Linked DNA regions of Homo sapiens: all the other regions are linked to region 1. The links are contacts of gene promoters, found by promoter capture Hi-C in blood cells and fetal thymus (Javierre and others, 2016). All regions are on one chromosome and are shown on one strand. The core of a region is centred on a gene start or on the middle of the fragment in contact, and the rest is flanking DNA. Distances in the headings are between cores, read along the strand shown.

Region 1 (3,151 bases), core at 299-2,798:
CAGCCTGGGGCCGCCATTTTTAGAATCTGTAAAGGACAAAAGAGGGAAATTTCAGTTTTTACTCCCCATCTCAGAAATTGAAGGAAAAAAACAGACTATTTTCCAAATAGGTATTCATGTCTCCAGCCTCGAGTTGAATGCACCTCACTTAATTCTCTCCAAGGTCTCCAGAACTCCAAACACCTTACCTTATTCACATCTCTAAAAAGGGAACAAAATAGGCAAAACGAGGTTTACTCTAGAGCTAACTCTAGCGATTCCTCTTTGACTTTAAATTGTATCGTTCTTAAGACAGAGCCCAGCAAGGACGGATCTATACGGAACTAAGGCCAGTAGAAGAGAGCACTCTGGATTGTTTTTTTCTCACCCCCACCCCGTTTAGCACAGTGAACCGTTTGTTTCTCATCTGTGTCTGCTGCCATAGAATTTGTGCCAATCCCTTGGTCAAAATAAGCTTTTCTGAAATGAGCCATATTGTAGATCCTAAGGCTCCGGCACAGTAAAGGACGGCGGTAATGCAAAAGGAGTGGGGGAGGAGACTGAGAAGGCTGGGTACTGGGGTGACCACTTCAGGGGCGGGTTTACCCTCTCCAGGAGAGGATGAGGAGCTAGCTGTCTCGCTCTCCCACAAAGAGAGATGCCCAGGGCGTTCTTCTTACCCCCTTCGTATTCATGTGCACATTATACCAGAGACTGCCCGTCAAGAAATGGAAGAAGAAAATGGGGCCTATATGGCTTTTCAGCACCTGAACAAGACGCGGTTGAGAAAAGGGAGCGCTGGCAGCTCCTGGGACCACTTCGACACAAACCCTACTAACAGTCACAAGCCTCCGTCTTCACTCAAGCGGCCTTAACCCGCTGCCAATGAGGAGTGCGCCCCCTCCCTAACTCCCCCACTCTCAAGGGGGTTTAACTGCCAGTTACCCCTTTCCCAACCCTAAAACCCGCCATAATGCTCCATTTCTAGGGTCAGGGAGAAGAAAGAATAAATTCGATTTAAGCAAGCAACGTCTTGCGCCGGCAAAGACACCTGAGAGTCAACGTCGGCTCCCCCAGCTTAAGGATAAAGATGAGAGACCTCCCTCCCCCTTGAAACACAAGTACCCCAACCCCGCAAGCCCCAGGAACTCCCATGGAGACGACAGGCACTAACCTGTGATGTTCACACACGAGACACCCGAACCCCGTTATGTGCTCGACCCCCAAGGAGTCTCTCCGCACCTCCGCGAACAGGCGACCCCCCGACAGCAGCCACTGCGGACACAGGACCCGGCTCCACACACCCCCTCCCCAAACAGCAGCGCGCAGCCTCTTCACCAGGAACCGAGGAGTAGGGGAGGGGGCAGCCAGGCAGTCAACAGGAACGCAGAGACGACGGCGAGGCTGCTCGGAGTGTCTATGCCCACTCTGTTGCCGCTCCCGAACTCCGGCACGGTCTCCGACTCGGCCCCCTGCGCCCGCTCAGTGTCACTGCCTCTCGCTCTGGGAAAATGGCGGCGGCGGCGGCGGCGGCCGCGGCGGCGGCGGCGGCGGCGGCAAGTGCACGGGGTACGCCCGTCCCGCTCCGCAGGGGCAGAGGGGGAGGGGATGAAGCTGCCCGGCGCCATTTTGCTTGTGGGCTGCCGCCCGCCGTTGCCTCTCCGCGGAGGCTCGAAGATAGCAAACTGGAGGCGGTGAGGGGGACGGAATCTCTGTCTTTCTGACAACAGATGCATTCAACAATCCACCGAAGGTTTGAGGAAGTGTCGGTATTCGGTGGGACTGGTTCTTTCCCCCTTTCCCCCAGTGGCCCTCAAGTCTGGATATAGGTGAGCTTGGGCATGCCAGTATTGGGTGCACGAACAAGGACAGCAGGGCTTGGGAACGAACTCCCTCCCGTCACCCTCCGAAAGCGATACACCTTCTCCCCCTCCCAAACAACCCCAGTCCCGTCTCCCCGTTCCTCTCCCCCTCCTCCCCCAGCCCAGTCTGGCCTCCAGCGCTGGGTGAACCCGGTTGGGGTGTCACTCGACGCCCACTAGGGGCTGAGGAGGCTCCAGTGCGCAGGCTCCGGGCACCGGATAAAAGCGGAGCTGGCGAGTCTAGTGCTGTCTCGATGGAGGAGCAAGAAACGGAAGAGGTCGGGGGGAGAAGCAGCCGGAAAAATGCAGCCACCGTCAACGCCGCCTCCCTGCCACCGTGCTTCGGGGTAAAAAGCTGCCGTTGCCGTCGGTGCAGTTGCCGTCGCTGCCTCCTATACTTCTCTTGGCCTCGGGGAAGGATTTCCCCACCGGTGGGACAATGTGCGGGGAGGGGAGTGGGAATTCCTTTATATGGCGGTGATTAAACGAGGGAGGGACAGACAGTGATCTCGAAGAAAAAAGGGGGAGACCAAAGAATAAAAGAAGGGTTTCCCCACTAAAATGACACGGCGATTCCGGCTCTTGTTTTGGGGGTCTTTCCCCGAAATGGTTTCCGTCTTCCCCTTGCCCCGCAGCGACCCAGAGCGCTGGGGGAAGCGGAGTGGGGAGAGGCAGAGGCGGTCTCGGCAGCCAATCAGCGCCTGATGTGTCCTGTCGGGCGCGTCGTGGTTGGCTGGCGATGACCTCATCCTGCAGCAGCGGGTGGGGCCAAAGCCGTAGGGGGAGGCTGTTGCAAAGGTAGAGAGGGAGAAGTGACGATGGTGATCGTTGCTGCCGCGGCCGATATGGAACCCAAGCAGTGGCGAAGGGAATCGCAAGGCTCTTCCCTGACCATTTTCTACTGTCCCTGCGCGAGGTGAGGGCCCCGGCTCGGCCTCTGCAAAACTTTGGGGCGCTGGCGCGGAGGAGGAGACAGGATTTCTCCCGTGACTTTTGTAACTGCGTCAGGGCAAGATGGCGCTGGGTCTCTTTGGGGCGCGGGGGGAGAGGCACGTCCACCGCCGCAGCGCATGTGACCGGGCTGCATTCCTGTGGGGTTTGGCTCCGACCCAGGCCGGGGCGGGGGAGGGGACAGGGCTTGGGCGGAGGAGACTGTGGTGCGGTCGGCGTTGGCGGCCTGAAGAGGAAGAGATGACTGTTGGAAAGCGTTCCCCTCCCCCATACGGCAGAACAGCTGCGGCTCCCAGGGGAAAGCCCCCGCAGGACAGTCCTCGTGGGGTGTGACGGCTGTTGGTGGAGAAGGTTTGGCG
Region 2 (3,151 bases), core at 434-2,933, 1.9 Mb after region 1:
GCATGAAACATTTGCTTTTGAAATAGAGAATTCTTATTTTTTGAAAGCATTTTACCCATATGTGCAGTTATTGAGAGAAAATATTTGTACTTGGCTGACTTGTCTTCACCAAATGTCACAGCCCAGACCTCTCTTTGGTTGGAGACACAGGGATAAGTCCTTTTGCTCTTAAATAGGCAATTAATCTTCAAAAAATGTAGAGAATGTCCTTGATAATTACTAGATGGACTTTATGTTGTCCTTTTTGTAATACATTGTTCTTTAAAAAAGAACATTTGTTTTATTTTTTATTTTTATTTATTTATTTATTTTGAGATGGAGTCTCACTCTGTCGCTCAGGCTGGAATCTCGGCTCACTGCAACCTCTGCCTCCAGGGTTCAAGTGATTTTCCTGCCTTAGCCTCCTGAGTAGCTGGGACTACAGGCATACACCACCATGCCTAGCTAATTTTTGTATTTTTAGTAGAGATGGGGTTTCACCATGTTGGCCAGGCTGGTCTCGAACTCCCGACCTGAGGTGATCCACCTGCCTCGGCCTGCCAAAGTGCTGGGATTACAGGCATGAGCCACTGTGCCTGGCTAGAACATTTGTATTTTATATTTAAAATACAATTGTCACAGGGGTTTGTTACCTTTAAATTTTCTTCTGGATTCTAGTTTTCTAGAACAAATTTAGCATTTGGTATGTTTATAACTAACTGTTGTTCACAGAGGGAAAGAGGATGAGCAATTAATTATGCTTCTGATTATATTTAATTATCAAGAGCAATGTTTTCACTCCTGTCCCAACGTATTTATTTTCCAACACAAAATGCTATATTTCATCCATTTTGAGATAGACATTTTATTCACATTTTAACACCACTGATATCACTATATGTCATGTATAACGTGTGACCTAACTATAATTGATAACATTTTTACTTCCTTAGTGGCACATGACACATCAGGGTGCCTTACAATTCATGGTATTTTTATTTATTTATTACTTATTTGTTTAGATTGCTCTTTCAGAATTCATGGATCTTAAATTGAATCAAAATCAGTACAATGGAAAGATCTTTATCAAGTTTTAAAGCACTTTTTGAAACACAGGTTGTTTACAGTTTTTGTGTATTCATGTACACATCTACTTTCAGTTGGTGTTGGCCTGAAATCAAGGGTGGATTATTTTCATTTACATTGTTAATTTTGGAAACAGTTACATAACAAGAAATAGTTTGAAATTTGCCACATTTAATTACAGAAACTCTAGCTAGATATGTTAAGGGGTTTGTCAAGCTTGAAGAGCTCAAAGCTAGTTAACACAGGACCATACAGACAACCCACTCTTCCTCATTCCTACTTTTTCTGTCATTTTATCTGTGGTCTTCTGAGTGCCCAGAAGACACTGGGCATGAGGAGCGTTCTTGTGTGACCCACTCTCGGGCTGAGGCTCCTTTGTCACTGGAGCACCTGTTGGCAGAGCGTGTCATTTTGCACATTCAGCAAATGGGCTCCCAGTATTTTTCCTCCAGAAAAACCAGTCCAGAGTTTCAAGGCTCAGGTTTTACGTGCTTCTGCTCCTTCTTGCCCTTTCAACAGTGCATCGTGTGAAATGGTGTTTCATAGTTTGATCATTTTGTGTTGCTTTAACATCTGTCATGGATGGCAGTCCATAATCCTGTGACTATACATTTCCCCATACCCCAAGGATATGACAACGTGGCAGTTGGTCGCCCTGAAGTGGGTACATGATACATCTGAGGAAATAGTTTCAGGCCGTGTTTATGGAGCAGAGGAGAGTGTGGAGAGTGTGGGTAAGGTTAGAAACACAGACCCTGTGAACCATCATGCTGACCTTTGCCCTCAAAAAACCCTTTGGAGGTTTTTTCGTTTTGTTTGTATCAGATTTTTTTGTTTTTTGTTTTTTAAAGAGCATTTCTGAAAACTGGACTTTGTGTGTGTTAGGGGAGGGGGTTTGTTAGGAGAGGATGGCTATTTGGTAATGAGACCTGTTTCCACAGATTGATTGGGGTGAAAGACTGAGTGGATGGGAGGTGAGGAAATGGAGATTGTGTGAATAGACAACTTTGAAAAAGCTTATTATTTAGAGAGAAGAAAGATCACTGCACCAATTTTTTCTTTTCTCTTCTTTTTGTTTCTTTTCTTTCTTTCTTTCTTTGAGACGGAGTCTCGCTCTGTCGCCCAGGCTGGAGTGCAGTGGCATGATAACAGCTCACTGCAGCCTCAACTTCCTGGGCTCAAGGGATCCTCCCAGTAGCTGGGACTACAGGCCTGCAACACCACAGTGGGCTAATTTATTTATTTTTATTTTTATTTTTTATTTTATTTATTTATTTATTTTTACCCCTAAAGCAGCCTGAATCCATTTCCTTTGGGTGTCAATGAGGACTTTCTCTTGGGTTCTTGCTTTCCCATGACCTCAAACCCTTCTCAAACTCACTGGGTCACAATCCACCTTGATTAGTGGTGCTGCCATTTCTGACTCTTCCCACTCTCCTCCTGACCAACCAGCCCTACAAAGTCCAAAATTTGTGACTATCCAAATACTCTCAAGTCTTACTGATTCATCTTCTTTGTTGTCTCTTGGATTTATTCTGCTTTTTCTCTTCTCATTGCACTGCCTCCTCATCTTTTGACTGGGTTGCTATTCACTATTAAAAAGTGGGGATTATAATACCTACCTTGAGGGTTTGCTAGGAGCATGAGTTTAAATGAAATAGGTGAAATATGTGGCATGGTGGTTCAGTGTTATTGGGTGTTCTAGGCTTCTTCTGTTTTCATTCAATCCATCTCCCAAGCTCCAGTTTTTAGCCACTTCCTTTCTTTTTAATCCTGCTATCAGAGTTGTCTTCCCTAAGTACATCATTTTCTTTTTAGACGGAGTCTCCGCAACCTCCGCCTCCTGGGTTCAAGCAATTCTCCTGCCTCAGGCTCCCAAGTTGCTGTGACTGCAGGCACGCGCCACCACGCCCGACTAATTTTTGAATTTTTAGTAGAGACGAGCCTTCACTGTGTTGGCCAGGCTAGTCTCGAACTCCTGACCTCGTGATCCACTCGCCTCGGCCTCCCAAATGGCTGTGATTACATGCATGAGCCACTGTGTCCAGCCCTTAAGTACACAGCCTTTTAAGTGTGTTCAGTGTTT
Region 3 (3,151 bases), core at 425-2,924, 1.9 Mb after region 1:
CCTACCCGGGAGCGCTCTCAGGATCCGTGTCGCTTGGTCTGGTCACAGTCTCCCACAGGGATGTTCCACAGGACAGGCTTAAGCTGCCTAAGGAGCTGCCTCCACCATCCACCAATCACCTCGCTTCCCAGTCAGGGAACCAAGAAATGTAGCAGGACGAGCCACAGACAAAACTCCTCAGACACCGAGTTAAAGAAAGAAGGGGTTTATCCGGCCAGGGGCATTGGCAAGACTCCTGTCTCAAGAGCCGAGCTCCCCGAGTGAGCAATTCCTGTCCCTTTTAAGGGCTCACAACTCTAACGGAGTGTGTGTGAGAGGGTCGTGATCGATTGAGCAAGCAGGGGGTACTTGACTGGGGGGCTGCATTCACCCGTAATTAGATCGGAACAAAACAGGATAGGGATTTTCACAGTGCTTTTCTATACAATGTCTGCAATCTGTAGATAATATAACCAATTACGTCAGGGGTCGATCTTTAACTACCAGGCCCAGGGTGTGGTGCCTGGCTGTCTGCTTGTGGATTTCATTTCTGCCTTTTAGTTTTTACTTTTTCTTTCTTTGGAGGCAGAAACTGGGCATAAGACAATATGAGGGGTGGTCTCCTCCCTTAAGAAGAGCGTCCCCAGGAGAAACAAGCTTGACCACTATGCTGTCACAGAGTTTCCTCTGACCACTGAGTCTGCCATGAAGAAGATAGAAGACAACAACACACTTGTGTTCACTGTGGATGTTAAAGCCACCAAGCACCAGATCAAACAGGCTGTGAAGAAGCTCTATGACACTGATGTGGCCAAAGTCCATGCCCTGATTAGGCCTGATGCAGGAAGAAGGCATAAGCTCCACTGGCTCCTGATTACAATGCTTTGGATATTGCCAACAAAATTGGGATCAACTTTGTTGCTGACCCAACAAAACTGGGATATTGCCAACAAAATTGGGGTCATCTAAACTGAGTCCAGCTGGCTAATTATAAATACATGTATCTTTTCACCAGGTTCATGCCTCTTTGTCAACTTCTGGTTGGGCTGGGGAGGCCATTCAAGGTACTGAGGTTGTAATAGGGCCTGGGCAAGACTCCTGTTCTACTTATCCTTTTGGAACACTCACTCTGCCACTCCACCATACTTGATCACTCCAGAGATCTTTATGACCAGAGCTAGTTGTCCTAAGAAAACCAGAACTTGTCTCCATGGTAGAGGTAAGAAAACAAGAAGCTGCCGGGTGGCGGTGGCTCAAGCCTATCACTTTGGGAGGCCCAGGCGGGCAAATCACTTGAGGCCAGGAGTTCGAGATCAGCCTGGCCAACATGGTGAAACCCCATGTCCACTAAAAAGACAAAAATTAGCCGGGCATGGTGGTGGGCACCTGTAGTCCCAGCTACTCAGGAGGCTGAGGCAGGAGAATCTGGGAGGCAGAGGTTGCAGCGAGCCAAGATCTGGCCACTGCACTTCAGCCTGGGTGACAGAACGAGACTCCGTCTCAAAAAAAAAAGAAAAAAGAAGAGGCTTTACAAGAACCCCTTCTTTTATCCCTGGAAGAGGCTGTGTGTGAAACCAATGCCCACAGTTTGAAGGGCATTAGCATTCATCTTAGGGGAGTGTGGGTTGGCTGGCTTTCAGGTAGCACTTTGACCTCACACACCCATCTACTATGTCCAACTGGTCTGTCTGCTTCCCTCAGCCTTAACCAATAAAGGACAAGGACTTAAAAAAAAAGAGTGGGAGTGAGGGGAACAAAGGGCATCTTTTTTTTTTTTTTTTTTTTGAGACAGAGTCTTGCTCTGTCTACCAGGCTGGAGTGCAGTGGTGCCATCTTTGCTCACTGCAACCTCCATCTCTGGGGTTCAAGCAGTTCTACTGCCTCAGCCTCCCTAGTAGCTGGGATTACAGGTGAGCTCCACTATGCCTAGCTAGTTTTTGTATTTTTACTTGAGACAGGGTTTCGCCATGTTGGCCAGGCTGGTCTCGAACTCCTGACCTCAGGTGATCCTCCTGCCTTGGCCTCCCAAAGTGCTGGAATTACAGGCGTGAGCCACTGCGCCCAGCTTTTTTTTTTTTTTTGGGGAAATGGGGTCTTCTCTGTTGCCCAGGCTGGAGTGTAGTGGCGTGATCACAGCTCACTGCGGCCTTGATCTCCCAGGCTCAATCGATCCTCCCACCTCAGCCTCTGGAGTAGCTGGGACCACAAGGGCGGGCCATCAAGGCTGGCTACTTTTTTTTTTTTTTAATTATTATTTGTAGAGATGAAGTCTCGCTATGTTGCCCAAGTTGGTCTCCAACTCCTGGGCTCTAAGGATTCTCCTGCCTTGCCCTCCCAAAGTGCCGGGATTACTTCTCCGTTGCTTAGTCAAGAACACTATGAAGAACTTTTGAGTAGTAACTTCAACTTACCCTTTGGGTTTGTATGTATGCTGTTACTTTTTTTTTTTTCTTCTGTTGCACAAAGGTATTATTCACCTTATGCAGTTTCAGCTCCACCCAGGTGCAAGCAGCTCTTAATCACCCTTAAGTTCAGCAGCCACTCTAAGCTAGCCTGAGGAGATAAAGTCCACACTTGACATACAGTTCTTTACATTCCTCCAATGTCACACAGGCACATTCACTTTCAAAATGCAGAATAGTTTGGTCTGCATTTTTCTGCCAGTCTTATCTGCATTTAGAACCTGTGGTGGTGGTTTCTTTTTTGCCAAGATAACCCCAGGGACAAGCTTTTTTTTTTTTTTTTGACCCTGGCACACCCCAGGACTTTTATAATCTTTTTGCCCAACAACCCATTGTTGAATTTTACTTCGACATGCCTGTACTTTACTTCTTGAAACAACTAATTTCATTCTGCAGTTTAAAAAGCAAATCCAGTAAGAAACTCAGAATCACAATCGTATGCTCTTTCATAGTTATCCTAGCGTTAAAAAAGATGCAAATTTAGATGAGAACCGTGTGTACCAGGGGGCTGTGACATCATTTTAAAAGTAAACGATCACACAGTGAACAATGCCGTGCTCCCATTAATATTCAATACGTACTGTACAACATTTCAAATTAGAGTTTAGTTTCTTCGCTACCAGGATCCTAGCGCCATAGGCTGTAAGTATTCAAATGCTTCTCGACTGTGATTGAGTTGGCTATGACAGTCCGTCAATGGGTCTGCAGGA
Region 4 (3,151 bases), core at 433-2,932, 1.7 Mb after region 1:
ATTCTTTCTACTCCTCTAAAATTATTTCAAAATAAAATGTTAAAAATTGTTAGGGTTCAAAACCAGGAAACATAGTAAGACTCAAAAAAAAAAAAAATGTTAGGGTTTGATATTATCTTGGGTGTTGTGATTACTCTAGACCAATGCTTTTCATGTTACAAATCATGACCCATCACTGGGTCATGAAGTCAATTTAGTGTGTTGAATAGAAAATGAGTGTTACACCCATTATATGGGTGGGTATACTTGTGAAACTCTTGATCACGTGTGTCTTTGTTTAGGATGTGATATAAATTTTTTTCTTGCTATGACAAGGTTTGAAAGCAGTTTATGTGGAAAAAGTTCTTTCACTTCATGTTTTGTGAGCCACCAATCCTTTCTTAAACTAATCGCAGAAAGATGCTTTTGGATTAATAGACTTGACTATACATAAGCTGTTTCTTTCTTCTAAGAGTCCCAGTTTTACCTATATTCTTTAATCTTGCTTATTATCCCAAAATTTCAACTTAAAGATATGAGACTTACAGTGTTAATATAGGGGAGGAAAATCATTGCAAAAATCAGCAGTGACTTGTTTGGCTGAGTTAGGCATTATTTCGGTTCTTTTAATAAAGGTAAGTAACAAGGCAGGGTTTCAGAACACCTGAAAGACACTTCTTTATAAAGGAGTTTATTCTCCTGCACCTTTATCTCCACAAAATACAACAGGTATTAGCACACTAGTCTCAGCTCTTTCTTAGGGGGACTTGTTTCCATGTTGGAGGGAGGTGGGCCCTGATATTTGTCCAGTCTGCTTTCTGTGAGGAGAGGTGACCCTGTGAAGGCAAGAGTGACTGGCAGTAGTGCTATGTGGGTATGACTCCTTTGCCTCTTTTATGGAAATGGGAAGGCTCCTTCCTCTTCAGTTGTACCATTAAACAGCAAGCTGGCACCATTTTTTGAATAGTGATTTCTCATAGGAGTTTTGCAACAGTACGTTTAATTTATTTTGGTATTGTGAAGTAACTGGAGAACAGCAGGAAATACTGCCATGTCACTTCCATCTTTTTTCCAAGAGAGGAAATAAAATCTATGGTATTTAGGGCTTTAAACCAATACAAGGAAATTCAACAAAAGACTTCCTAGAACTTAAAAGCTACCTTCAAAAAAGCTTCTTAGGCACCTTAGGTACCATCAAATATTATACAAATTCTCTGCTTTGTTTTGAATAGGTGGTGGTTTTGTTTTGTTTTGTTTTGTTTTTCCTTCTTTAATTGGGAAGGAACTTTGGTTTCTAGGCTTAACTTTTAACAGATCTCACAGGCCGCAGTTTCTAGTAGTAGTCAGGCTACTGGTAGTATTAGTCTGTGTTGTCACTGCATAGTCTGAAATAACTAAATTGCCAGAAGTCCATTAACTTAACCAAATCAGCTTTCTACCACTTAACATTCTACTTTTACCTACACAAGTGGACTGTGTAATACTTAACATCCTTAAGAAACATATTTGTTTCTGACACACATCTTAGATGTTTTCTGAAATATACAAGGTTTAGTTGAAGAACCACAATAGCAGTTATTGGAAGTGTTCAGCATCGGCTCCCAAGATTTTAGCAGATGTGACGAAGAGAACACCACACTACAACACAATCTAATCTCAGCTTGCCTCTCCAGCACTGGTACCTTGGGCACTTGGCTTAATTTTGCTAGGTTTGTTTCCTTCAGTGTAAAACAAGAATGATTTCCAGGGTTTCTATCCAGCAAAAGTTTAACTGTGAGGAAGCTCTTTTACCTATTCTGTAAGGAAGTAGATTTATCAGAACTCTTAATGAATTGTGGTTGTGTTTTTGAGTCCAAGAGTCCAACAGTACTATAAATTTAAATATGGCTTTTTACCAGTCTGGTGAGTGTATTACATTGATTTTTAAGAGATAAACAGTACAAGGTAGATCTTTACTATTGTGTTTTAAAAGCCTTTGAGATTTTATTTTCTGGGATGTGAGCTATCTGAAATTTTTTCTCTTATTAACACTCAGAGGGCTATATGTATCTCTCATCTCTACAAGTTTATTTTCAAAATGACACATCCCAGATTGAAATGGGCACTTAGCGAATACTTGTGGACCACAAGACTTGTCTGAGAACATGTTCAAAGACAGTTTTCAAATAAAAATTTTTCTTAATCAGGTCCATATACAGACTTCACCCCTTGGACAACAGAAGAACAGAAGCTTTTGGAACAAGCTTTGAAAACATACCCAGTAAATACACCTGAAAGATGGGAAAAAATAGCAGAAGCGGTGCCTGGCAGGACAAAGAAGGACTGCATGAAACGATACAAGGTTGCAGACTTAAGCGTTTATAGATTGTTGTATTTTAAATTGTAGCTTGGGTGATATAGCTCATATTTTATGTCTATTAAGTGGTTAATAATATAGTGCTTATTTCAAAACCAGTAGTTATGGGGTCAATATTATGAGGAAGAAATGAGCAACCTTAGAAACTTTCTAGGCCCTGGCAGATAATGAAATCAGTATATTTAGTACTATCTATCTTAGTTGCTTGAATTCTTTACACCAAACACTAGATTAAAATGTCTGTTTTTAAATCGCAACTTCTTAAATCACACCTTTCTCCCTTCCTAGGAACTTGTCGAGATGGTAAAAGCAAAGAAAGCTGCTCAAGAACAAGTGCTGAATGCAAGTAGAGCCAAGAAATGACAATCTTTGTTGTGTGTGCATTTTTATAATAAAACTGAAAATACTGTAAACATTTTCATTCTTAAAATTATACTCATGGTAATAATTTGAAAGTATGCTGCTTCCAACATAATTTCTCAGAGAACAAAGACTGACCATTAATACAAAACAACCTTCAGAGGGGTAGTCTTTTTATCCTTTGAAAGTATGATACAGTATTTAATTCAAATTTCCAAATGTATATACATGTTCATTTTTATTTTTCTCTAGCTCTGTTTTATAAATACATGTGTTCAAACAATCTTGATTAGGAGCATTTTAATCACGAAGCCAACACATGTTACTGCGTATCTGTTTAAAATCTGGTAGTTGCTTAATGGGACCTAAGGATTAAAAAGAAGAGTTAATTAAAAGTACTTGGCCAACTTTTTGCATAGAAGAAAAGAAGCCAGGCTTACCAACAGCAGCAATAGC
Region 5 (3,151 bases), core at 421-2,920, 1.4 Mb before region 1:
GAGCCGTCCATTTGGATGCATGCATTTGAACTTGCCTATGGGAAAAGGCAAGCCACAGAAGGATGTTAAGCAGTGGAGTGATGAGATGATATTAATGTTCTCTGTCTAGAAGATACCTCTGGCCATGGGATGTGAGAGAGTGGAAGACCGAGTGGGGCTGGATACATGCAGAAGCTGGAGCTCAGCTTGGAAATGATCATAGTGTTGAGTCCGGGAAGATGGATAAGGGCCTGTGGCAATGCAGTAGGAATAAACAGGTGGTGATGGACTTCCAGCAGGGACCCAACATGCTGGTGACCATTCATTTGGATGTGGAAGATGAAGGAGGAGATGGTCAAAGCAATAGCAGGTTTCTGCCTCAGGTGACCAGGTGGAAGGTTGTGCCATTTGCTGAAGAGAAAAAAAGGCTGGTGGAGAAAGTGGAGCCAAATTGGAAGAATAGAAACATGGTTGCTGGAGATAGCTGCTTGCAATGTTTTGTTTTTCTCTATTTATTTTGGGACATGGGATCCTTTTGTAATATTTTTACACATGAAAAGGGGTATAGTCCTCAAAGGCTGTTAGGACTGTCACATATGATTATGCAAGTCTTGCCGTGCAAAAGGGCTTCTGGCCCGGGAGAGAGCGAGGCTGACCTGCAGCCTGTGCGAGGCTCCTTGGGAGTGTACGGACAGGGTTGCATCTGCCTGGGAAAGGGGTACCCATGAGGATGCTTCCCATCACCTCTCTGGACCCACTTCCCACCCTCCTCTGTGCCCTGGCTGGCTGGCCTGTGTGGATGACATGGCCCACCCCCCTCCCTCCAGCACCTGGCTGAGTTCCACCGTTGGGGGTGCTGGCAGGAGAGCAAAGGGAAGAGCGTTTCTCTTGGCTCCTCTCCTTACTGAGGGCCATTGATTGTCTCTCTCCCTTTCTGAAGGTCACAGCTTCCAAAGCTACAGTTCTTGCTTTGTCTCAGTACAGGGCTCTCTCTCTCCTTGTCTCTCAGGGCTCCCCACTGTTGCTAGCCCCAGGATACCATACCATTCCTTGCAGGTTTGCCTAAATCCCACCCACGTCTTTGTAAATGGTGCCTTCCCCTCACACTTTCCTTCATTATCCACTTTGACTGTGTCATCTGTTTCCCGCCAGGACCAGGACTGATATTGAATATTTTTCTAATTAACACAAGGCAACATCTTCATTCACTTCCCCATGCACCTGTGAAGCTGTGACTACCATCGGGACGCCTGTTTCTAGTTCTCAGGAAGGTGCTGTGTTAAGCGAAGGGCCCTCTGGGTTCTGAAACTCTGGGGGCCTTGATTCCTCTGCAAGTGGGAGCCAGATTGGCTTTTCAGTCTCACCCAAACTTTGAGCTAGAAGGGAAGAGGGAGGAGAGTGGGGAAGGGAAAGGTGTCAGAGTCAGCGGACCCTGAGGAGAGGCACTGTGGATTATCAGTGTGAGGTATTAACATCACCCCTCCAGCCTTCACTGGGAATTGGGAGTCGACACTTGGGAATGTTTGAGTGCAGGTAAGGCAGGTGTCCCTACTCCACCAGAATGATCTGCTCCCCTTCTTCAAGTTTCTCGGTTTCTTACCCAACCATCCCCTTCCCCTACCCTGGCTATATGTAGCTGTTTCTAATTTTCTTTAATTTAACAAGGACTCAGTAAAAGAGAATATTTTCGTTAAACTTTCAGGTTTAACAAGATATTGTGAAAGCCATTGATCTCCACTCTATCACGCTGGAGAAGTAGGGAAATACCTATTTGTAAAATGTGCGTGTCTGCCTGTTGACACCCAGTTGTTGGCTTATTTGTTCATTCATTTATTTATGCATCTATTATTTATTCATTCATCAAATAGCTGTCAAATGCTATCTAAGACTTGATTGTTGTATTTATCCTCAGCTGGACCCTTCTATCCCCTCCTAAAGGAAGAGGAAGGAGGCATGCAAGGCACACAGCAAGGTGGGCTGATGCCAAGCTAGAACAAGGAAAGTGCAGTTGGAGGACATGTGTGGTGGGACCTGTAGCTGACCTTTCCCCTCCCTGCAGCCAGACTTTGCCCTCCCTGCAGCCAGGCCTGGGCCACACGGGTAGGAATACCCTGGCAGTTCACATTCTCACTCAGTCTCACACTCACTTTGTACTCTGATGCTGACATGAAGTGGCTCTGCTGGCAGCCCACGTGTTTCCAGATACTTGACCCAGCTGCAGGTATGAAGGCCTTACCTCCTGGCAAATGTGAAACAAAAGTCGAAGGAGACAAAGAGCCTGTGAGCTTGTTCCCCACTCCTTTCCATACTCAGCTGATGACTCAATTCACCACCAAGGGTGAGCATGAGGGATCTGTCCGTTCATATTCATCTTCCACCCTTTCCAGGCTTTGGATGTGTGGAGCTGTGCTAATTTGGAGTTGCTGAGCTACAGGACAGTGTTAAGAGAGGCTCTGGCATCTCAGATTTATTGCTTGAATACTTGAAATCCTTATTACAGGAAGTTACACAGCTTGCTTCCAAGCAGCACATGTAAAATTGCAGTTTGACGTTCTGGGGAAATCCCAAGCGTCACGCTGTTTCACCAGAGTGATAAATTGACAAGGGGCCAGTGTTCTGATGAAATCTTGCTTCTGTTTGCCTGCCTTCCCCATGAGTTCTCTAGTTTCCTAAGAGCCAAGAGTGAGCAAATAGGCTCTTACTCATTTTAGAACATTAGTCTTCTAATTTGCATACTTTCTTTCTACATCTAGTTATTGGTACTTGAACGGAAGTGGAGGAGTCTGTCCTAACATATTCCTCTGCCCTCCCCATCCCATCATGATTGAGAAAGAGAGAGAGAGAGAGAGATTGGAACTTGGGTTAGGAACTACTTTCCAGAATCTTTTATTTTCTTCTTTTTACTTATCTACCTTCCTTCCCTTTTTCTTTTCATTCCATTTCTCTCTCCCTCTTTTATTCAGTAATTTATCCAATTACCCATTCATTACTTTGTACCTGGAACCTGAGCTTAAGATAGCTGTGTCCTCTTCCTCTCCCTGATTAGGATTTAGATGTAAGTCTGTGAATGCCAGGATGATGTGTGGCTCAACCTACCTGTGGGTCTGCATACCTGAGTGATGGAGTCTCCTAGGAAAGACTCTCTTCACAGGAGGGGGAAATAGAAGCACCT
Region 6 (3,151 bases), core at 290-2,789, 1.1 Mb before region 1:
GGAGGGCACCAGAGATGGCTTATAATGCTAGAAATTCCAAGGAGTCTGGCCCTTTCCCAGGGGCTTTAACACACAAGTCCATTGCAATTACACTGTCAGCTATGATCAAACAAACCAGAATGGAAGCCATGCAATGACTCTTAACAAGTTCACTGTGTACCTCCACAGTTTTTCTCTATGGTGAGGAAACAACAAAGTTCATGCCAGAAAGATTTATAACAATTCCTTTATGCCTATAAATAGTTCAGCAGCCAGGATGGAACATATAGAAATAGCAGTCAAAACTGGACGACTTCTCAACTTCACTAATACATCTACATCTTTTCCTCAATTTTCTCTTATCCCATTAATATTCAAAAATCATATCTGTCAGGCCCCACATTCACATAACACTACAAGTCAAACTTTTACCCCCTTATGCGTGGATAACTACTTTTTGGGTCACTGCCCATCCACATTTAATCCCAGGGGACCATGGGATCCCTCTATTTATGCAAACCATACGGGAATCTAAACTAATCACACCTATGCCTGGTTGTGAGGTTCCTCTTCAGGAGTTTCATTAAAAGGAACTGGGTTCTTCTTTTTATACAGATCTAACATATTTCTAGCCTTGTCTATTAAGTGAAGAGGCACTTACACTACAGTTGCAGCAATATCTGGAGTGCACATATATAACTCCTCAGACTTCGTAACCTCTAGCCAAGCTCCAAATTTAAAATCCTTCTTATGTTGGTCCCTCCAAAGGACATCAGAAGCAGTACTTAGTCTCCCATCATTTAGCATCCTCGCCAATAATAATCCTGTCATAGAGAAAAATGACCTAGGACATTCTGTAGCCAGTGCAATCTTTTGGTTTGCAGATATACCCATGCTTAAGTGCAGTATTCATAATCTCACCATCCTAGTCCAGCAATCTTGGGAAGCTACAATCACGGCCATTGAAGGCCAATGGCAGGCCCTGAACTCGCTGGCAGGGTATGTTTTGCAGAACCAACTCACTTAGGAGGTGCTTCCTGCTGAAGCAGGAGGCACCTGCATGCTGTTAAATAAAACTTGTTGCTTTTACATCAGTAACTCAGGTCAGGTAGAAGAAAGTTTAGAAAAGATAACAGACAACATAAAAATATTAAAGGGCCTTCAAAACAGAGTTCCTCAAGATTCCTTTTCAGCACAACTATTTCAAAGCTTCTCCAGTTAAATTTGGCCATGGGTTGCTCAACTTCTTCTGCCTATAATAAAGCTCATATTAGTTTGTTTATTTGCATACTGTATTGTTAATTCTACATCTGATTTTGTGTTTTCTAGGATACAACAATTTCAAACCAAAACAGTACTACAGCAAAGGTATCAGCTACATAACTTTCCTTTGAATGCAGCAGAACAAAATTTTAGGCTACAAATGCTGTTCTCCCATAGTCTCATAGCAACCCTGACCAATTTAAGTCCCAACTCAGGGATTTAGGTGTACATAACCTCCTGACCGACTAACAATCCTAGGTAGGGCCAACTATACACCCCTGGTCAGCAAGAAGCAGTTGGAAGATGAGACCTTTAACCACATGCCAAAGATTAGTCATTGTTGCTGTCAGGGTGTGAAGAAAGGTAGAGTCCTAATTCAGGAGAAGGAGTCAGGCTGGCAGGACCAGGGGAAAGCAAAACGAGAAAGCAGATAGATAAGCTATAAGTCTGCCTTTCTTCATGGTCCAGGACACATAGCCCTCATGTGTAAATCACTCACAATCTTCCTGTGCCGAGCTACCACCTGACTCTTGGCTGACAGAAAAATGCAAGTTAGCTCACTGCAACCTCGGCATTACCAATACTGCACAAAGTCTTCTTCAAGCGCAGAGCACAAGCACCATCCTATAAAATCCCTAGCAAGCTTTTGACTCTTTGCAGTCAGCTCCTCTTTCGCTGACCTGCCTGTTGCACCCTTGCAATACATTTTCCTACGTTCTCAAATAAATCTGCCTTTCTTTACCTACGACTGTCTTGGTAAATTCTTCTTACTGCCTGTACCACTGGCCCCAGATAGTTTCTGATCACCTGTGACACTCATTACATTAAATGTGGTTTCCTGGATTGGATCCTGGGGGAGTAAAAAAGACATTAGTGGACAACTGATGAAGTTTGAAAAATTCTTTAGTTTAGTCAGTAGTAACACATCAATACTAATTTTTTTTGTTTTGACAAATGTATGATGGTTATAGAAGATGTTAACATTAGGGGAAACTGGGTGAAGTGTATACAGAACTCTTTGTACTTTGCAATTCATAAATCAAAATATGTTTTAAAATGAAAAGTTTAAGAGGCCTCAGATTACTTTGAGATTAATTTACTGAGCCTATTAAATCCATCTATTGTACAATTTAAATAAATTTGGTTATCTTAAAATTTTTCTAAAATGATTATTGAATTCATTAGCGAAAACAAAACACCTATTTGTGTTTATAAGCAAAAGTCAGGTTTTGAATTTGGTATTAAACAATATCTTTTCAGAAAAGGAGATAAATATTGGTTGGGAATGAGTTACAAAGTCTCATCTTGCCAATAAGATGACCAAAACTTTGTATTCCCATTGAGAAAAACAAAAAATATTATAGTTAGCCAATGAGATGTCTAATATAGTTAATATATGGTTGACTAAATATAGTTTCCTTTCTGGCCTTCTGAGCATTCCTAAATCCCAAGTGTCACAGTCTGGCACATGTGTTCAAAGCCACAGAGAGAAAGTAAAACAATGACAAATTATGTAGGTAACTTAGCCATAATTATACCACCACAGATAAAGCTCAATAATACTACCTCAGATAGACAGAACCATTTTATATTACAGGGATTCTTTTCCAAATAGCCCTGGTAGAGTAGACCTGGAACATGTTGTTCCCAGAGCATCTGGCTCTTTCCTCAGATTTGAGGAACAAATCAGAAAATGACCAGTGTTGTAGTCAATGTGATACAGTCATCTGAACATTCTTCCCTGATTTTGAACAGTTGTGCCTTCAATGAGATGCTATTGTTTAAACACTTTTGTTTGAGGAGGATTTAAAAAAAAATCACAATTATCTTGTTGCCCAATCAGATCTCACTGGCTCTGCCAGTCACGGCCAGTTCCTTCTCAGGAAGGTAGGCCCCTGAGCTCAGCTGA
Region 7 (3,151 bases), core at 202-2,701, 1.1 Mb before region 1:
AAAGGGTTAAAAAAATTAAGATTGCTTTCCATGTTTGAAATTTACCATTGAGAGTCAATGAAGTTGCTATTTTGAGTTTAGCATTGATATTGTGAAAATAAGTGCAATTTGGATTTCATGTTTCTTAATATTCATTCTTGTTTCACAAATGAATGATTAAGGAATTATGCATCATAAAGGAACCTAAGTGAGGTATATGATGAGTGTATTGTCTTTGCACACACATATAGGTATATTCTGAATACAAGCTTATTCACATTTTGCTTCCTAATCTTTTTGTTGTACAGGGATTCAGGTTTCTTATTCTTACAACATGATTGTTTATATGTGAAGCACATCTTGCTGTTGCCTTATTTTTGATGCTTTTATTCATGACAAGAATTGTCAATATAAGAATGTATATCTTTTTTGCAACCAATTTAATAAAGGAGTTGAAAGAAAGAGTGCACTGATTGTTAATATTACAAAGAAACCTTCATCTTAAAGGCATTGAGCAGTGCAAAACAGAACTGATTTTCAAAGCAGGAAATAGAATCACAGTTTTAATGTTTGGCAAGGAATAAAACAGACAGAAATGCTTTGGAGACTATGGTTCTATCCTTTTTTCTTCCGACCTCATTTAGAAAATACTTATTTGCAACTCTTAGATTGTTTTCCTGATATACCTTTTCTCATTAATTGTCTAATTAACTAGCAAAGATTCCTGCTTAAGAGTGTGTGCTCTGCAACCGAACTGCCTAGATTTGAATCTTGTCTACACCACTTACTAGCTGTTTAACTGTAGGCAAATTGCCCTCTGTGTGCCTCAGTTTGCTTATGTGGAAGTCGGAAATAAAGTAAGTAGTTCCCTCCTGTTTACTGGGGATATGTTTCAAGACCCCCTGGGATGCCTGAAACCAAGTGTAGTACCAAGCCCTATGTGAACTGTCTTTTTTCCTATCCATACATGCACCTATAATAAAGTTTATCAATTGAGCACAGTAAGAGATTAACAAGGACTAATAATGAAGTGGCACAATTAAAACCATACTGTAGTAAAAGTTATGTGAATATGGTCTCTCAGAATATCTTACTGTACTGTACTACGGGGAACTGAAACTAAGAATAGTTAAACCACTTTCCTGATCTCAGTGTGTTTATGATTTAAAAGTGAATTAACAAATGTAAAGCCCTTAGAACAGTGTTCCGCATTTAGTAGGCACTCTATAAATGTTAGCTACGATTACTAACTTTTGATAGCATCTGATATAGAGATTCTTAAACTAGGAATTCATGGGGCTGGAGCCGTTAGGGTGGTGGTTTTGGACAAAGAGAGGATTGGCGTCAGGCTTTCAAGCTTGTCCCTTTACAATCCTTAAAGAGTTCTGGATCTTTTGGTGTGTTTTATTTTTCTGTTGGTTGACATTCATAAGGTTAATGAGATCAAAATTTAAAACTTAAAAGTATTGAGATTAAAGTAGATCTTAAAAGGACTTCTATTGCCTTTTCCCTTTGTGCTTTTGAATCAACATTACAAGGTTAACCCATTTATAGGATAATTTCCAGGAGAGAAGCAATAAAAGCTTTACTTACTAGGTGTTAGGTTGTAGAGAATTATTTATAAAAAAGATGAGCATTACTAATGTTTTAGTGAACAGAGGTCAGTTGAATAGATGTTTAACCTACTGTAAATGTTAAAGGCAATATTGCTTATGTTTCACATTTAAAATTTTTTCATATAGTATTTCAGATTAATAGGTAAGTATACAAAATAATATTTAACAAATGCTTTATTTGCATCAGATGTTTGTTTGTTGAGACAGGGTCTTACTCTGTCACCCAAGCTAGAATGCAGTGGCGCCATCTCAGCTCCCTGTTAACCTCCACCTGCCAGGCTCCAGTGATCCTCCCACCTTGGCCTTCTCAGTATCTGGGACTACAGGCACGTGTCACCATGCTTGGTAATTGAAAACATTTTTTGTAAAGACGAGTTCTCACTATATTACCCAGGCTGGTCTCAAACTCATGGGCGCAAGCAGTCCTCCTGCGTCAGCCTCCCAAGTGCTGGGATTACAGGTGTGAGCCACCTCACCCAGCGTTGCATCAGATTTTTTTTTTTTTTTTTTTTTTTGAGATGGAGTTTCACTCTTGTTGCCCTGGCTGGAGTGCAATGGCGCGATTTCAGCTCACTGCAACCCCCACCTCCCGGGTTCAAGTGATTCTCCTGCCTCAGCCTCCCAAGTAGCTAGGATTACAGGTGCTCGCCACCATGCCGGGCTAATTTTTTTATTTTTAGTGGAGATGGGGTTTCACCATGTAGGCCAGGCTGGTCTCAAACTCTTGACCTCAGGCGCTCCACCCACCTCGGCCTCCCGAAGTGCTGGGATTACAGGCATGAGCCATCGCACCTGGCTTTGCATCAGATTTTTTTTAAAGGAAATAAAACATTACAGATAAAGCCTTTTCCTTACTGAGGTAAAGTTACATTTTTCCTACCTTTCACTATTAAAAATAGCACACAAATATTCTTCTGCAGTGTGTGAAGGCTTCTCTAAGACCTATCACTAGAAATGGGAACTATTGGAATGTGAGATGTTCATGTTTTCCATTGTAACCTAGGTATTCCAAATTGTTCAGCAAAATGTCTGTAACAAGTTAGTCTCCCACCAGCAATAAGTAAGATTTCCTCTTGCTCCATATTGCCAATAACTTGATGTTTTTGGACTATTGCCAATCTGATAAGTTTGAAATTGTGTCTTTGATGCTTTAAAATTTATGTTACTCTGATTGCTATTTAGGTTGGTGGTCCTTTCCTGTATTTATTGGCCATTTGGTTTCCACCACCCTGTACTGCCTATTCATATCCTTTGCAAATTTTTCTGTTTGGTGCTTTTTCCTGCTGAATTGACGTGCTCTTTATGTATTCTTGGTATTAACCTCTTGACATTTATAGAGGTTGCAAATATCTTCTCTCTGTTCCTGGCTTGCATTTTCACTTTGTGATTTTTGTCATATAAAAGTTCTTTATGGCCGGGGTCGGTGGCTCACACCTGTGATCCCAACACTTTGGGAGGCCGAGGCAGGCGGACCACCAGGTCAAGAGATGGAGACCATCCTGGCCAACATGGTGAAACTCCGTCTCTACTAAAAATACAAAAATTAGCTGAGCATG

Evidence for each region. Contacts are between HindIII fragments. The CHiCAGO score rates a contact against its expected background, and 5 or more counts as called.
Region 2: a contact is called between a fragment that was not itself captured here and the fragment with the promoter of KMT2E-AS1 in region 1, in 1 of 17 cell types (erythroblasts). The highest score is 5.1, in erythroblasts.
Region 3: a fragment that was not itself captured here is called in contact with the fragment with the promoter of KMT2E-AS1 in region 1 in 1 of 17 cell types (erythroblasts); the score reaches 8.7 in erythroblasts.
Region 4: a contact is called between a fragment that was not itself captured here and the fragment with the promoter of KMT2E-AS1 in region 1, in 7 of 17 cell types (naive B cells, naive CD8 T cells, M2 macrophages and 4 more). The highest score is 8.3, in naive B cells.
Region 5: a fragment that was not itself captured here is called in contact with the fragment with the promoter of KMT2E-AS1 in region 1 in 1 of 17 cell types (neutrophils); the score reaches 7.2 in neutrophils.
Region 6: a contact is called between a fragment that was not itself captured here and the fragment with the promoter of KMT2E-AS1 in region 1, in 2 of 17 cell types (activated CD4 T cells and fetal thymus). The highest score is 5.9, in activated CD4 T cells.
Region 7: a contact is called between a fragment that was not itself captured here and the fragment with the promoter of KMT2E-AS1 in region 1, in 1 of 17 cell types (total B cells). The highest score is 8.9, in total B cells.

The regions. Positions count from the first base shown.
Region 1 is chr7:105,012,538-105,015,688 of GRCh38, reverse strand. It overlaps KMT2E-AS1 (KMT2E antisense RNA 1), which reads left to right and starts at 1,548. Exons shown (of 1, transcript NR_024586.1): 1 at 1,548-3,151. KMT2E (lysine methyltransferase 2E (inactive)) reads right to left here and starts at 1,484. Exons shown (of 27, transcript NM_182931.3): 1 at 1,154-1,484. RefSeq lists enhancers at 1,165-1,394, 1,655-1,774, 2,095-2,144, 1,936-2,475, 2,565-2,934 and silencers at 1,455-1,544, 1,895-1,944. The HindIII fragment of the contact is 4,615 bases long and covers 457-3,151 here.
Region 2 is chr7:103,131,798-103,134,948 of GRCh38, reverse strand. All of the region lies in intron 1 of NAPEPLD (N-acyl phosphatidylethanolamine phospholipase D), which reads left to right. Among named protein-coding and RNA genes, the nearest start is that of NAPEPLD, 16 kb to the left of the region's middle. The HindIII fragment of the contact is 800 bases long and covers 1,284-2,083 here.
Region 3 is chr7:103,149,804-103,152,954 of GRCh38, reverse strand. It overlaps LOC105375434, which reads right to left. Exons shown (of 3, transcript XM_047421168.1): 2 at 2,391-3,151. The coding sequence ends at 3,135. It also overlaps a transcript of NAPEPLD not described here and the pseudogene RPL23AP95. Among named protein-coding and RNA genes, the nearest start is that of NAPEPLD, 2.3 kb to the right of the region's middle. The HindIII fragment of the contact is 2,071 bases long and covers 639-2,709 here.
Region 4 is chr7:103,312,116-103,315,266 of GRCh38, reverse strand. It overlaps PMPCB (peptidase, mitochondrial processing subunit beta), which reads right to left. Exons shown (of 13, transcript NM_004279.3): 12 at 3,136-3,151; 13 at 581-3,060. The coding sequence ends at 2,996. DNAJC2 (DnaJ heat shock protein family (Hsp40) member C2) reads left to right here. Exons shown (of 17, transcript NM_014377.3): 16 at 2,166-2,320; 17 at 2,624-2,978. The coding sequence ends at 2,698. Among named protein-coding and RNA genes, the nearest start is that of PMPCB, 16 kb to the right of the region's middle. The HindIII fragment of the contact is 1,059 bases long and covers 1,153-2,211 here.
Region 5 is chr7:106,424,561-106,427,711 of GRCh38, reverse strand. No RefSeq gene overlaps it. Among named protein-coding and RNA genes, the nearest start is that of NAMPT-AS1, 140 kb to the right of the region's middle. RefSeq lists enhancers at 2,275-2,374, 1,758-2,957. The HindIII fragment of the contact is 4,359 bases long and covers 1-3,151 here.
Region 6 is chr7:106,114,953-106,118,103 of GRCh38, reverse strand. No RefSeq gene overlaps it. Among named protein-coding and RNA genes, the nearest start is that of SYPL1, 4.2 kb to the right of the region's middle. The HindIII fragment of the contact is 697 bases long and covers 1,191-1,887 here.
Region 7 is chr7:106,087,795-106,090,945 of GRCh38, reverse strand. It overlaps SYPL1 (synaptophysin like 1), which reads left to right. Exons shown (of 5, transcript NM_182715.4): 5 at 1-441. Among named protein-coding and RNA genes, the nearest start is that of SYPL1, 23 kb to the left of the region's middle. The HindIII fragment of the contact is 226 bases long and covers 1,339-1,564 here.